2 separate regions of the Homo sapiens genome follow, and region 2 is linked to region 1. The links are contacts of gene promoters, found by promoter capture Hi-C in human tissues and cell types (Jung and others, 2019). All regions are on one chromosome and are shown on one strand. The core of a region is centred on a gene start or on the middle of the fragment in contact, and the rest is flanking DNA. Distances in the headings are between cores, read along the strand shown.

What was found. The method cuts DNA at HindIII sites, captures the fragments that hold promoters and counts their contacts. A contact is called where the count stands out against the background at its distance.
Region 2: a contact is called between a fragment that was not itself captured here and the fragment with the promoter of SLC39A3 in region 1, in 1 of the 25 tissues and cell types used here (aorta).

Annotation. Positions count from the first base shown.
Region 1 is chr19:2,736,075-2,742,504 of GRCh38, reverse strand. SLC39A3 (solute carrier family 39 member 3) reads left to right here and starts at 2,488. Exons shown (of 3, transcript NM_144564.5): 1 at 2,488-2,560; 2 at 5,126-5,457. The coding sequence starts at 5,248. RefSeq lists enhancers at 2,207-2,256, 2,957-3,006 and silencers at 2,317-2,716, 3,125-3,392. The HindIII fragment of the contact is 11,347 bases long and covers 1-5,296 here.
Region 2 is chr19:3,978,515-3,984,944 of GRCh38, reverse strand. It overlaps EEF2 (eukaryotic translation elongation factor 2), which reads left to right. Exons shown (of 15, transcript NM_001961.4): 2 at 595-809; 3 at 1,654-1,835; 4 at 1,927-2,138; 5 at 2,521-2,699; 6 at 2,893-2,998; 7 at 3,493-3,606; 8 at 3,966-4,104; 9 at 4,236-4,431; 10 at 4,879-5,137; 11 at 5,509-5,616. It overlaps SNORD37 (small nucleolar RNA, C/D box 37), which reads left to right and starts at 2,373; the gene lies at 2,373-2,438. RefSeq lists enhancers at 552-771, 65-916, 2,621-3,472. The HindIII fragment of the contact is 5,039 bases long and covers 2,211-6,430 here.

The DNA.
Region 1 (6,430 bases), core at 1,239-3,738:
TTTGAGACGGAGTCTTGCTCTGTCGCCCAGGCTGGAGTGCAGTGGCATGATCTCGGTTCACTGCGACCTCCACCTCACAGGTTCAAGCGATTCTCCTACCTCAGCCTCCCGAGTAGCTGGGATTACAGGCGCCCACCACCACGCCCTGCTAATTTTTATATTTTTGGTACAGACAGGGTTTCACCATGTTGGCCAGGCTGGTCTTGAACTCCTGACCTCAAGTGATCCACCCACCTCAGCCTCCCAAAGTGCTGGGATTATAGGTGTGAGCCACCACACCTGGCCTTCTCAGTACATTTGACTTGGCTAATTCCTGCACAGAAGTCTCTCTCATTCTTTCTTCACAGAACTTAGTACAACCTATAGTTTTTCTAGTATGTATGTGTATTAGTTACCTACTGCCATATGACAAATTTTCCCCCAAACTTAGTGCCAGCAGGCATTGTGGCTCATGCCTGTAATCTCAGCACTTTGGGAGGCTGAGGTGGGAGGGTTTCCTGAATCCAGGAGTTCAAGACTGGCCTGTGTGACATTAGGTAAAAAATTAGCTGGGCATGGTGGCACATGCTCCCAGCTACTCGGGAGGCTGAGGTGGGAGGACTGCTTGAGCCCAGGAGGTCATGGCTGCAGTGAGCTGTGATTGCACCACTGCACTCCAGCCTGGGTGATGGGGCAGGACCCTGTCTCAAAATACAAGCAAACAAACACAAAACTAAGTGGCTAGAACAGCATGTGTTATCTCAGTTTCTGTGGGTGAGGAATTCAGATGCAGTTCATATGGGTCTTCTGTTTTCAGGGTCTTTGTTTTTCTTTCTTTCTTCTTCTTCTTCTTCTTTTTTTTTCTTTTGAGACAGGGTCTCACTCTGTTGCCCAGGCTGGAGTGTAATGGTAATGATTTCAGCTCGCTGTCACCTCTGCCTCCTGGGTCCAAGTGATTCTGATGCCTCAGCCTCCTTAGTAGCTGGGACTACAGGTGCCCGCCACCATGCCTGGCTAATTTTGGTATTTTTAGTAGAGATGGGGTTTTGCCGTGTTGGCCAGGCTAGTCTCAAACTCCTGACTTTAAGTGACCTGCCTACCTCGGCCTTCCAAAGTGCTGGGATTATAGGCATGAGCTACCACATGCAGCCCTGTTTTAGGGTGTTTCAAAGGCTGCAATTGAAGTGAAGCAGTCATCCAAAGGCTCAACTGGGGCAGGACCCTCTTCCATGATCACGTTCATGGCTGTTGGTAGCATTTGGTTCCTTATGGACGCTTGTGCTGAGGGTCTCATTGCCTTGCTGACTGTTGGCTGGAGGACACCCTCAGTTCCTTTCCCTCTGGATCTCTCCAGCATCTTAGCTTGCTTTGTCAAGACACGTAGGCTGAGAAGGCGAGAGACAGGCTCTGCTGGCAAAACAGAAGTCACAATCTCTCATAGCCTAATCGCAGAATGACATCCCATTCATTTGCCATTTTCTATTTGTTAGAATCAAGTCATCAGGCCAAGCGCAGTGGCTCATGCCTGTAATCCCAGCACTTTGGGAGGCCAAGGTAAGAGGATCACCTGAGGTCAGGAGTTCAAGACCAGCCTGGCCAACATGGTGAAACCCCGTCTCTACTAAAAACACAAAAATTAGCCGGCATAGTGGCACACGCCTATAATCCCAGCTACTCGGGAGGCTGAGGCAGGAGAATCGCTTGAACACGGGAGTCGGAAGTTGCAGTGAGCCAAGATCGCGCCATTGCACTCCAGCCTGAGTGACAAGAGCGAGACTCTGTCTCAAAAAAAACCTTTTTTTTTTTTTTAGAGATGGGGTCTCACTATGCTGCCCAGGCTGGCCTTGAACTCCTGGACTCAAGCGATCCTCCCGCCTCGGTCTCTTAAAGTGCTGAGATTACAAGTGTGAGCCACTGCGCCCTGCCAAGATTTGGTTTTTAACTTACGCGTTACCTCCTATACTTATTTTTTCATGGTTTGAACATGTAACATCTACTTTCTTAGCAATTTTGCAGTATGCAATGCATTGTTACGAGCTGTAGCCACCATGATGTACAGTCGATCTCTTGGACTTACTCCTCCTGCCTATCAACAGAGATTTGTTGAAGGGATGAATCTGCTTCTTCAGCCGTCGGTAAGGGGATCAGCAGCGAGGACGCTGAGAGAGGAGCCGCCTCCGTTGGAAATCCCTTCCCATCCACCTCCAAGCCTCTTTCCAAGCGGGATTCAGCACCAGGCGCCCCTGGACAGCTCTGGAAACCCAACCCTGCCGGAACCGTTCCTCGCCAATCCGGGTTTCCCGCCGGGGCCGCTTGGTGGCTGCGCCCGCCGCTCAGCGGGAGGAAACCCCTTTCCTGTGCCGGTAGGAGAGGTGGAGTCGCATATGAGTGGCAGGTTTCGCAGCCAATAGTATGGAAAGTTCTGCCAGCGGGTCTCGGGGAGGCCAATGGGCAGGGGCGTGGGCGGGGCGTGGACCAGCCGCGCCGAGCGGGGCCTCTCCGGGCCGCGTCTGTGGGGTCGAGACTGCGCGGCCGTTGGGCGTGCAGCGGCGCCAGTCGGCGGACGAGGGGCCCCCGGGAGGTAGGTGCGGGCAGAGAGAGGACCTGGGGCGGCGGGGCGGGGCGGCGCTGAGCGGCCGGGGGTCTGTTGGACTCTACCCGCACGTTAGCCGAGGCCCGTCTCCGGTGCCCGGTAGCGCGAGGCACACAGAAGGCGCTCAATAAGTGCTGATTGAATGAATGAGCCCGTGCCCTCCTCATCCCGGCCCGAGCAGCCTCCGGTTTGAGAGCGTGCAGGCCACCCTCACCTTCACTGTACAGACTGAGGTATCCAGATGCCGGACAGGTCTTTATTGGGCGCCTACTGTGTGCCTGGGTGGCTCTGCGCTGGGTGCAGCTGGCCCTGAGCAAGACAGACAGCCTGGTCCCGCCCAGCTCACCGCCGGGGGGGAGGGACGACTTTAAATGACTTAAAATAATGTAATTCCTAGCTCCCTCTGTAGCACAAAATAAAAGAAAATAACACCAGGGAAGGGGGCGGGGAGAGCTCTGAGTGGAGACATCTGAGCAGTGACCCGAAGACCTGAATGCAGTGAGGTAGCGGGGCCATGAGGCGCTTGGGGCTGATGGTGGGGGAGAAAACCCAGTTGGGGAAAACTCAAGGACAGGGGAGGAGCTGAGATTCCTCCTAAGAACGGTGACATTTTGGGGTCCAGGGTGAAACCGACTTCACTTTGGCCCATTGCATCAGGTAAAATGCGGCCCTTATCAGTGGCCACACGCTTCCCCTCGTCCATGTGTTCAGCCAGCGGTTTTTGAGTATCTGTTCTGCAGCAGGCCTTCCGGCGGGTACAGGGATATGGTTTAGGGCAGGAGTCAGCCAGGGGCAGAGAGGGAGGCCCTTTTTTTTTTTTTTTTTTTTTTTTTGAGACGGAGTCTTGCTCTGCAGCCCAGGCTGGAGTACAATGGCGCGATCTCGGCTCACTGCAAGCTCCACCTCCTGGGTTGAAGCAATTCTCCTGCCTCAGCCTCCCGAGTAACTGGGATTACAGGCACGTACCACCATGCCCAGCTAATTTTTTTTTTTTTTGAGACAGAGTCTTACTCTGTCACCCAGGCTGGAGTGCAATGGCTTGATCTTGGCTCACTGCAACCTCCACCTCCTGGGTTCAAGTGATTCTCCTGCCTCAGCCTCCCAAGTAGCTGGGATTACAGGTGCCCACTACCACACCCAGCTAATTTTTGTATTTTTAGTAGAGACAGTGTTTCACTGTGTTGGCCAGGCTGGTCTTGAACTCTCGACCTCAGGTGCTGGTCTCGAACTCTCGACCTCAGGTGATCTGCCCACCTCAGCCTCCCAAAGTGCTGAGATTACAGGTGTGAGCCACCACTCCCAACCGAGGGAGGCCCTTTTGAGGGGTCCTGGATGCAGAGAAGCAAGAAAGAAGAAGGAGGCCTCGCTGGAAGGTCAGGGGAAAGAGAGCAGTGTTCCAGGTGGAGAGAGGAGAACCCATGCAGAGGTCCTGAGGCACGAGCAAGCTTGGCACAGAAAGGACCAGTGAGGGCCGAGGCGAGGCAGGAGCTTGTCATGCAGAGCTTCAGCCTCAGGGTACAGAGTTTAGACTTTATTTCGGGGCATGGGGAAGCCATGGACCACCACCATCCAATAGCATGTTCTGCAGTGATGAGAGTGTTCCCTTTGCTGTCAAATACGGTAACCACAGAAGTCAAGTAGGCTTGTGTGACTACTGAGCGCTTGAAATATGGCCAGGGAGACTGAGGAGCGGAATTTTGTATTTTATTTAGTTTTTTTTTTTTTTTTTTTTTGAGATGGAGTTTTGCTCTTGTTGCCCAGCCTGGAGTGCGGTGGTGCCATCTTGGCTCACTGCAACCTCTGCCTCCTGGGTTCAAGCGATTCTCTTGCCTCAGCCTCCAGAGTAGCTGGGATTACAGGTGCCTGCCACCACGGCCGGCTAATTTTTGTATTTTTGGTAGAGACGGCGTTTCACCATGTTGTCCAGGCTGGTCTCGAATTCCTGACCTCAGGTGATCCACCCACCTCGGCCTCCCAAAGTTCTGGGATTGCAGGTGTGAGCCACTACACCCAGCCTGGATTTTTTTTAATTTTGATGAACTTTTTTCTTTTTTTGAGACAGTGTATTAGTCAGGGTTCTCTAGAGGGACAGAACTAATGGAATAGTTATATATATAAAGGGAAGTTTATTAAGTATTAATTGCACACGATTACAGGGTCTCACAATACATTGTCTGCAGATTGAGGAGCAAAGAGAGCCAGTCCGAGTTCCAAAACTGAAGAACTGGCCAGGTGCAGTGGCTCACGCCTATAATCCTAGCACTTTGGGAGGCCGAGGCAGGCGGATCACGAGGTCAGGAGTTCGAGACCAGCCTGGCCAACATGATGAAACCTCGTCTCTACTACAAATACAAAAAAAATTAGCTGGGAGTGGTGGCGCGTGTCTGTAATCCCAGCTACTAGGCAGGAGAATTGCTTGAATCCAGGAAGCGGAGGTTGCAGTGAGCGGAGATTGCACCATTGCACTCCAGCCTGGCAACAGAGCGAGACTCTGTCTAAAAAAAAAAAAAGAAAAAAGAAAGAAAGCTAATGCAGTGCCCCTGATGTTCACAGTTGCTGGACTGAGACATGAGCCTCCAACTGTGTGGTTGGGCTCGGTAGCACATCGTGGGACTTGGGTGTGCGCCCACAGATGGTTTGGCCCTGCAGTGACCAGAGCAGCCCAAGCCGCCACCATGGTGAAATTGCTAGTGGCCAAAATCCTGTGCATGGTGGGCGTGTTCTTCTTCATGCTGCTCGGCTCCCTGCTCCCCGTGAAGATCATCGAGACAGATTTTGAGAAGGCCCATCGCTCGAAAAAGATCCTCTCTCTCTGCAACACCTTTGGAGGAGGGGTGTTTCTGGCCACGTGCTTCAACGCTCTGCTGCCCGCTGTGAGGGAAAAGGTAAGGGCTCCCTGGGCACTAGCAGCAGCCCTTGGCACCTTATGGCCAAGGGACTCTGATGCATTTTCAACACTGATGCCAAGTTCAGTGAAGGCCTTGATGCTGTAAGGGTGACGGAAAGTAGGAAGTGAATTTGCTGTGTGATTGTGAACTGGTTACTTTCTGTCTCTGTGCTCTACCGGCCAAACAAGGGGTTTGGACCAGACCTGGGATTCCCAACAGGTGGACTTGTCGGTTGTCACCTGATAATCAGACCAGACTACCCACCTAGGTAGGGCACACTCTGTCCTGAAGCTGGAAAGCATGGCCTCTCTTCGGTTCCTATATCAGTCAGCTACTGTTGCGTAACAAATTATAGCAAACTGAGCACCTTAGGACTACAGACGTTTATCATCTCACAGTTTCTGTGAGTCAGGGGTCTGGGCACTGCTTCAGGAGCTCACAAGGCAGCAGTCACAGTGTCTCCTGGGCTGTGGTCTCATCTCAACGTTCAACCGGGGATGGGTCGGCCTCTAAGCTCATGTGGTTGTAAGCCAGGTTCAGTTCCTCATTGGTTGTCAGACCGAAGGTGTCTGTTTGTCAGTGTCTGTTGGCTGGGGCAGCCCTCAGAGCCTGGCCACGTGGACCTCCCCAGCATGATCAGTTCCTTCATCAGCAAATGGAGAAGATGGCCATGACTCTGTGTAAGACAGAGGGCACAGTCCCATGTCATGCAGAGGTGACAGGGTATCCCTTCCCCTCTGCCCCAGTGTCCTGCTGGTTAGAAGCAAGTTCAAGTCCTTCCCATACTCAAGTGGCCAGGACCTCACAGGGTATGGCTGTCAAGAGGCAGGGGCTTCTGGGGCCATCTTGGAGTCTGTCCACCCCAACTCCTGACAGCATCATCCTCTGCTGACCTGTTCCTTGAGCTCCCCCATATCAGCAGCCCAGAGTGTGGGTCCCCTGTCAGGCCACAGTGTGACCAGCCCTGGCC
Region 2 (6,430 bases), core at 3,481-5,980, 1.2 Mb before region 1:
TTCCTTCCAAATACCTTCTCCTGATGCTGTTAATCGTCGACCTTAGGCACTTGTCCTTCCTATGACTCCCAGATGTACAAAGACTCTTATTGAGACACGAGGTGTAGGCTTGTGGCAGTTAGGGCCGTTCCGGCTCCCCGTTATTTCCTGGGGTGGGTGGCCTTGTCTGATCCCGTTTGCCAAGGGGTGACCTTGCATTTTATGATGAAGCTTCTTGCTCGGGGAAGTTTGGGTGGCCCGGTGACAACGTGGAGGGGGCTTTAGGAGAGGATTCATCCCTTACGTGTTTGGCCCCAAATGAGACTTTAGTATTTGTACCTGGTATCAAGGAAATCTGTTGACACTCAGTTTTATTCCTGAGCACTTTTATTTCTGGGTTGTCAATCATGAATGACACCTATTAACGGTGGTTCCTTGGAGATTGCGGGGTGGCTCTTAAGGGGTGTTAGGCTGGCAAGATTCGGTGGGCTTGGGGCACCCCAGCACCAACCCCCTCCTGGCCTTGGGCATGCTGGTTCGTTTGGACTGAACGCTCCGTGCCATGCTGTGTTCCTGGAAATCACGAGCTGGTCTGAGCCTCCTTGTCTTGCCCAGGTGAACTTCACGGTAGACCAGATCCGCGCCATCATGGACAAGAAGGCCAACATCCGCAACATGTCTGTCATCGCCCACGTGGACCATGGCAAGTCCACGCTGACAGACTCCCTGGTGTGCAAGGCGGGCATCATCGCCTCGGCCCGGGCCGGGGAGACACGCTTCACTGATACCCGGAAGGACGAGCAGGAGCGTTGCATCACCATCAAGTCAACGTGAGCTCCCTGTGCCCTCTGTACCCAGGCAGGGAGGTGCTGGCCTGGCAGCTGGAGGCCACTGGGCCAGGGTGCGCGGGGAGAGACTTGGCAACGTCTCTTTCCCCTGGTTTCTTAATTCATGGGAGAATGAGTGAGGTTCAGTCCAGCGAGACAGGATGGAGAGGCACAGGGATTCGGGGTACTGCGAGCTGGAAGGTTTTCTTGAGGAGGGGGCTTAACTCCGTGGTTCTCCCTCCCTGGGGGACTTGCCCCCACTCCTACAATATCTGGAGAGGTTTGGCTGTCACACCTGGGAGGGGAGGGTGTTCTAGTGCTTGGGACGCTGGGAAGCTCCTGTGTTGCACTGGATGATGTTCATTCCATGTCAGTTTCTGGCCCCGATATGAGTAGGGGGAGCGCAGAGTACGGTGACCCCAACTGCTTTTTGTCCTGGGTTGGTACATTGGTGAGGGACTCTGGCTAAGGCTCTTCATTTCCCCTGGAGCAGGGGCAGAAGTGAGGAGGGGAGGGTCGGAGTCTCTGGAGGCTTTTGCCGTCCTGCTGGGTCTTTTAGTTGCTACTTTGAGTCAGGTGTGATGAATCTTGGGACCAAGTCGGTGGGGCAGGATGTCTGGTCAGGAGGGCTCTGAGGATCTGGCTATGGGGCTGGTACCAGGAGTTCCCTGTCATGGGGGTGGCATGTCTCGGACAGAGGCAAAGGACAAGGGTGGGTTGGCTCTTGTGGGAGCCTCTCCAGGGATGAGTCATGGAGGGAGGAGCAGCCTGGCTTCTGACAGCATCCCAGACTCCCTGGGCCAGGTGTGTGGCTCCTGTCCCCCTGACGAGTCCCTCCCTCCATCAGTGCCATCTCCCTCTTCTACGAGCTCTCGGAGAATGACTTGAACTTCATCAAGCAGAGCAAGGACGGTGCCGGCTTCCTCATCAACCTCATTGACTCCCCCGGGCATGTCGACTTCTCCTCGGAGGTGACTGCTGCCCTCCGAGTCACCGATGGCGCATTGGTGGTGGTGGACTGCGTGTCAGGTAAGCAGTGGGTCCCCCTGAGGCACGGCCTGGAACCGGGGGCCATCCTTGCTTGAGGATGACAGCGCCGCCCTGTCCCCCGTGTCCCCAGGCGTGTGCGTGCAGACGGAGACAGTGCTGCGGCAGGCCATTGCCGAGCGCATCAAGCCTGTGCTGATGATGAACAAGATGGACCGCGCCCTGCTGGAGCTGCAGCTGGAGCCCGAGGAGCTCTACCAGACTTTCCAGCGCATCGTGGAGAACGTGAACGTCATCATCTCCACCTACGGCGAGGGCGAGAGCGGCCCCATGGGCAACATCATGGTACGGCCCTCCCTAGCTGGGTGGTGGGCTTGCCGCAGCGGGATCTGCAGGAGCCGGTGGGGAGTGGAGTTGAGCTGAGGGGGACTGGAAGTGTGTTTTTGCCAGGAATGTTGGGTGACAGAGAAGGGGGCTGGAATGTTTTCATCCGACTTGACCCAGCCCTTGATCTTTGGGCAGCTGGAAGAGACGAGCTCAGGGAACGCTGCCCTGGGTGGTGGAGGGGCTGGCCCCCCTATTCGTGATGACTGATCATTTCTTCACTTTGACCAGATGTCTACTGAAGAAAGCCTGCGTCTGAGGCCCATGCCCAAGGCGCCCAGCCCGTAGCTTCAGGCTCTGCGCAGGGGCCCTCACGGCTGCTTCTCGTTTCTCACACTTCCAGATCGATCCTGTCCTCGGTACCGTGGGCTTTGGGTCTGGCCTCCACGGGTGGGCCTTCACCCTGAAGCAGTTTGCCGAGATGTATGTGGCCAAGTTCGCCGCCAAGGGGGAGGGCCAGTTGGGGCCTGCCGAGCGGGCCAAGAAAGTAGAGGACATGATGAAGAAGCTGTGGGGTGACAGGTGAGCCCCGCGGGATATGGTGGGGGATTCCTGACACCTGGGGGTAGTGGCAGCGACGTAGGGGCGTGGTGTGCTATTCACAGCGTGGCTCAAGCCCACCAGGTCTTGCCCAAGCATGTCCCCTTGGCGACCACCCTCCCCAAGTCATCCCCTGGAGACCCTAACTTGATTTGGCTTGGCCTCTCCTTGCCAGGTACTTTGACCCAGCCAACGGCAAGTTCAGCAAGTCAGCCACCAGCCCCGAAGGGAAGAAGCTGCCACGCACCTTCTGCCAGCTGATCCTGGACCCCATCTTCAAGGTGAGTGAGGGCTGCGCCAGGCACCCCGCCGATGCGACTATTGGCCCTCGGCCCTGTGGGCTCCGGCCGGTAGCCTGTCGGCTGACTGGGCCCGTCTCCTTGTGGGGCAGATGCGAGATGGGAGGAGGCACAGCTCCTAACTGAGGTGGAGTCAGGGCTCCTCTCTTAAGATCTGGACTGCATAGCCAGAGCCTTGGGACCTCTCCTGCATTGAGGGGGTTGAATAACTTGTGGCTTTGGCGGTTCAGTGCTTGTAAGTCAGAACTTGGGTCCTTGTCTGAGTCAGAGTGGGCTTTTTCCTCTGCTCCACCACGAGGTTTCCTCCAGCTCCCGATCCGCTCAGCTGGCTGGGCCCGTGGTAGGCAGGCCAGGCCTGCTCCTGCTCCCGTGCTGCGTCCCCCTGCGCTGACCTGAGTCTTCCAAGCAGGAAGCAGTGCCAGGCTTCCTCCTGCTGTTCCCAAATGGGCTTTCTTGTTTCTTGGTGGGGAATGTAGGTGTTTGATGCGATCATGAATTTCAAGAAAGAGGAGACAGCAAAACTGATAGAGAAACTGGACATCAAACTGGACAGCGAGGACAAGGACAAAGAAGGCAAACCCCTGCTGAAGGTGCGGCCTGGGCCCAGCCCTCGGGGTGGAGGGAACACAGGCTGCTGTTTCCGGATGCTCTGACAGCCCAGGCCTGGGGGCTGAAGTCCTCAGCTGGGCAGGGACAGCTGCTGCCCCTTTCGCTTTAGACTCTGGGTGCTGCTGGAGACACATCCCAGCAGCCAGCCCCATCCGGGACAGGTGTGGGTGAGGGCCTTGGCAGGAGTGTGCATGGCCTTTGCCGCCTTCCAGAAGGGACTGTGCTTTGGAGAACGTTAGTCCTGACTTTGGCTTCCTTGGCTTCAAGAGAGGAAGCGTGTACGGGGTGGGGCCATCCTGGGCTCCCCAGGTGTCTCATGCACCGCTCTCTGCCCCCGCAGGCTGTGATGCGCCGCTGGCTGCCTGCCGGAGACGCCTTGTTGCAGATGATCACCATCCACCTGCCCTCCCCTGTGACGGCCCAGAAGTACCGCTGCGAGCTCCTGTACGAGGGGCCCCCGGACGACGAGGCTGCCATGGGTACGTGGTCCCGGTGGCCGGGCCCTGAGATGCAGCCGGATGACTTCCTGTTGCCCAAGGTTGTGGGTTGCAGGGTTCCAGAAGGCTGAGCTGCACTGGAATAAAGCTTGCGGGTTTTCTCTGTCCCTCAGGCATTAAAAGCTGTGACCCCAAAGGCCCTCTTATGATGTATATTTCCAAAATGGTGCCAACCTCCGACAAAGGTCGGTTCTACGCCTTTGGACGAGTCTTCTCGGGGCTGGTCTCCACTGGCCTGAAGGTCAGGATCATGGGGCCCAACTATACCCCTGGGAAGAAGGAGGACCTCTACCTGAAGCCAATCCAGAGGTGAGCAGCTGGGTGATGTGCAGGCCCCTTGGCACTGTTGCGGGCCCTGCCCTGCTCCAAGTCTTGGGCTCCTCAGTCGGGAGCTAGAAGTAAGGAGCATAGAAGGAATATAGGGTGATACTTGTGCCAGCCACAACTTTTGTTCTTAGCCCAGTGAGGGCATTTCTGGAGAAGCTCCAAGCCCCAGGGCACAGCACACCCCTGCTCATCTGTGTCCCTGGGCACAGGTGGGTGGCGGCCGTCGACCCATACCCAGGGAGGAGGGCAGTGATTCTGAAGAGGATGTTTCCTGACAGCCCCGACGCAGCAGTCAGGGCCTTGTGGAAGCCACCAGTCTGCCCTGGGACCTGGCAGGAGGGCCACCAACTCCGGGAGGGACCTGCCCTGGCCCTCCAGGGTCCAGCACAACCATCCCTGCGGCCTGCTGCCGCCTTCTGCTTCTTCCAGAACAATCTTGATGATGGGCCGCTACGTGGAGCCCATCGAGGATGTGCCTTGTGGGAACATTGTGGGCCTCGTGGGCGTGGACCAGTTCCTGGTGAAGACGGGCACCATCACCACCTTCGAGCACGCGCACAACATGCGGGTGATGAAGTTCAGCGTCAGCCCTGTTGTCAGAGTGGCCGTGGAGGCCAAGAACCCGGCTGACCTGCCCAAGCTGGTGGAGGGGCTGAAGCGGCTGGCCAAGTCCGACCCCATGGTGCAGGTGGGCACGGAGTGCACCTGCTGGGAGCAGACACCCTGAGGGGGGACGGCTTGTGTCCTGAGTTGTGGCTGTGTGGGTTGCTGTGGTTGGTGGATTGGGGTGACTGGTCATGAAAGGAGGGGTTCTTGGCTGTGGCTGTAAATGGAGACTCCTGCCCAGGCAGCCACCACCCTCTCCTAGGCTGCTCTGCGCGTGTTCACTGTAGCTTGTGGGACTTAACATTTCTTCAGGAGTTTGTGCTGGTCCCAGTTTCCCAGCACCTTCCCTGAAATCTTGTTCTGGCGGGGTCCCTAGCTAAAGGGAAGCTGGGAGCCTGGTCCCGCCTGTTCCGAGCCGCCTACCCCTTTGGTGCTGACCCGCATCCCTTTCAGTGCATCATCGAGGAGTCGGGAGAGCATATCATCGCGGGCGCCGGCGAGCTGCACCTGGAGATCTGCCTGAAGGACCTGGAGGAGGACCACGCCTGCATCCCCATCAAGGTGAGGCGCCAGTGACCAGCCTTCCCCACGCCCCACCCCGGACACCTGCCCTCTGCTTTAAAGCTGAGCTGAGCTAGGCTCTGCAGACGCCTAGACTTGATCTCGGTCTTGGTCTCAGCTTCTTAAGTTCCTCAAGTTTCTTCTTTGCAGTCTTCCACAGGCATGTGGGGCTGTTTTTGTTGTTGTTGTTGTTTTTTTTGAGATAGTCTCGCTGTGTCATCCAGGCTGGAGTGCAGTGGCGTGATCTTGGCTCGCTAGAACCTCCACCTCCCGGGTTCAAGCGATTCTCTTGCCTCACTCAGCTTCCTGAGTAACTGGGACTACAGGCGCGTGCTACCACGCCCGGCTAATTTTTTTTTGTATTTTTAGTAGAGGCGGGGTTTCACTGTGTTAGTAAGTCAAGATGGTCTCGATCTCCTGACCTCGTGATCCCCCTGCCTCGGCCTCCCAAAGTGCTGGGATTACAGGTGTGAGCCACCATGCCTGGCCCAGGGCTATTTTTTTTTTTTTTTTTTTTTTTTTTTTGAGACAAGAGTCTTGCTCTGTTGCTTAGGCTGGAGTGCAATGGCGTGATCTTGGCTCACTGCAAGCTCTGCTTCCCAGGTTCACGCCATTCTCCTGCCTCAGCCTCCTGTAGCTGGGACTTCAGGCGCCTGCCATCATGCCCGGCTAATTTTTTGCATTTTTAGTAGAGACGGGGTTTCACCGTGTTAGCCAGGATGGTCTGGATCTCCTGACCTCGTGATCCACCCGCCTCGGCCTCCCAAAGTGCTGGGATTACAGGCGTGAGCCACCACGCCCGGCCTCCGGGGCA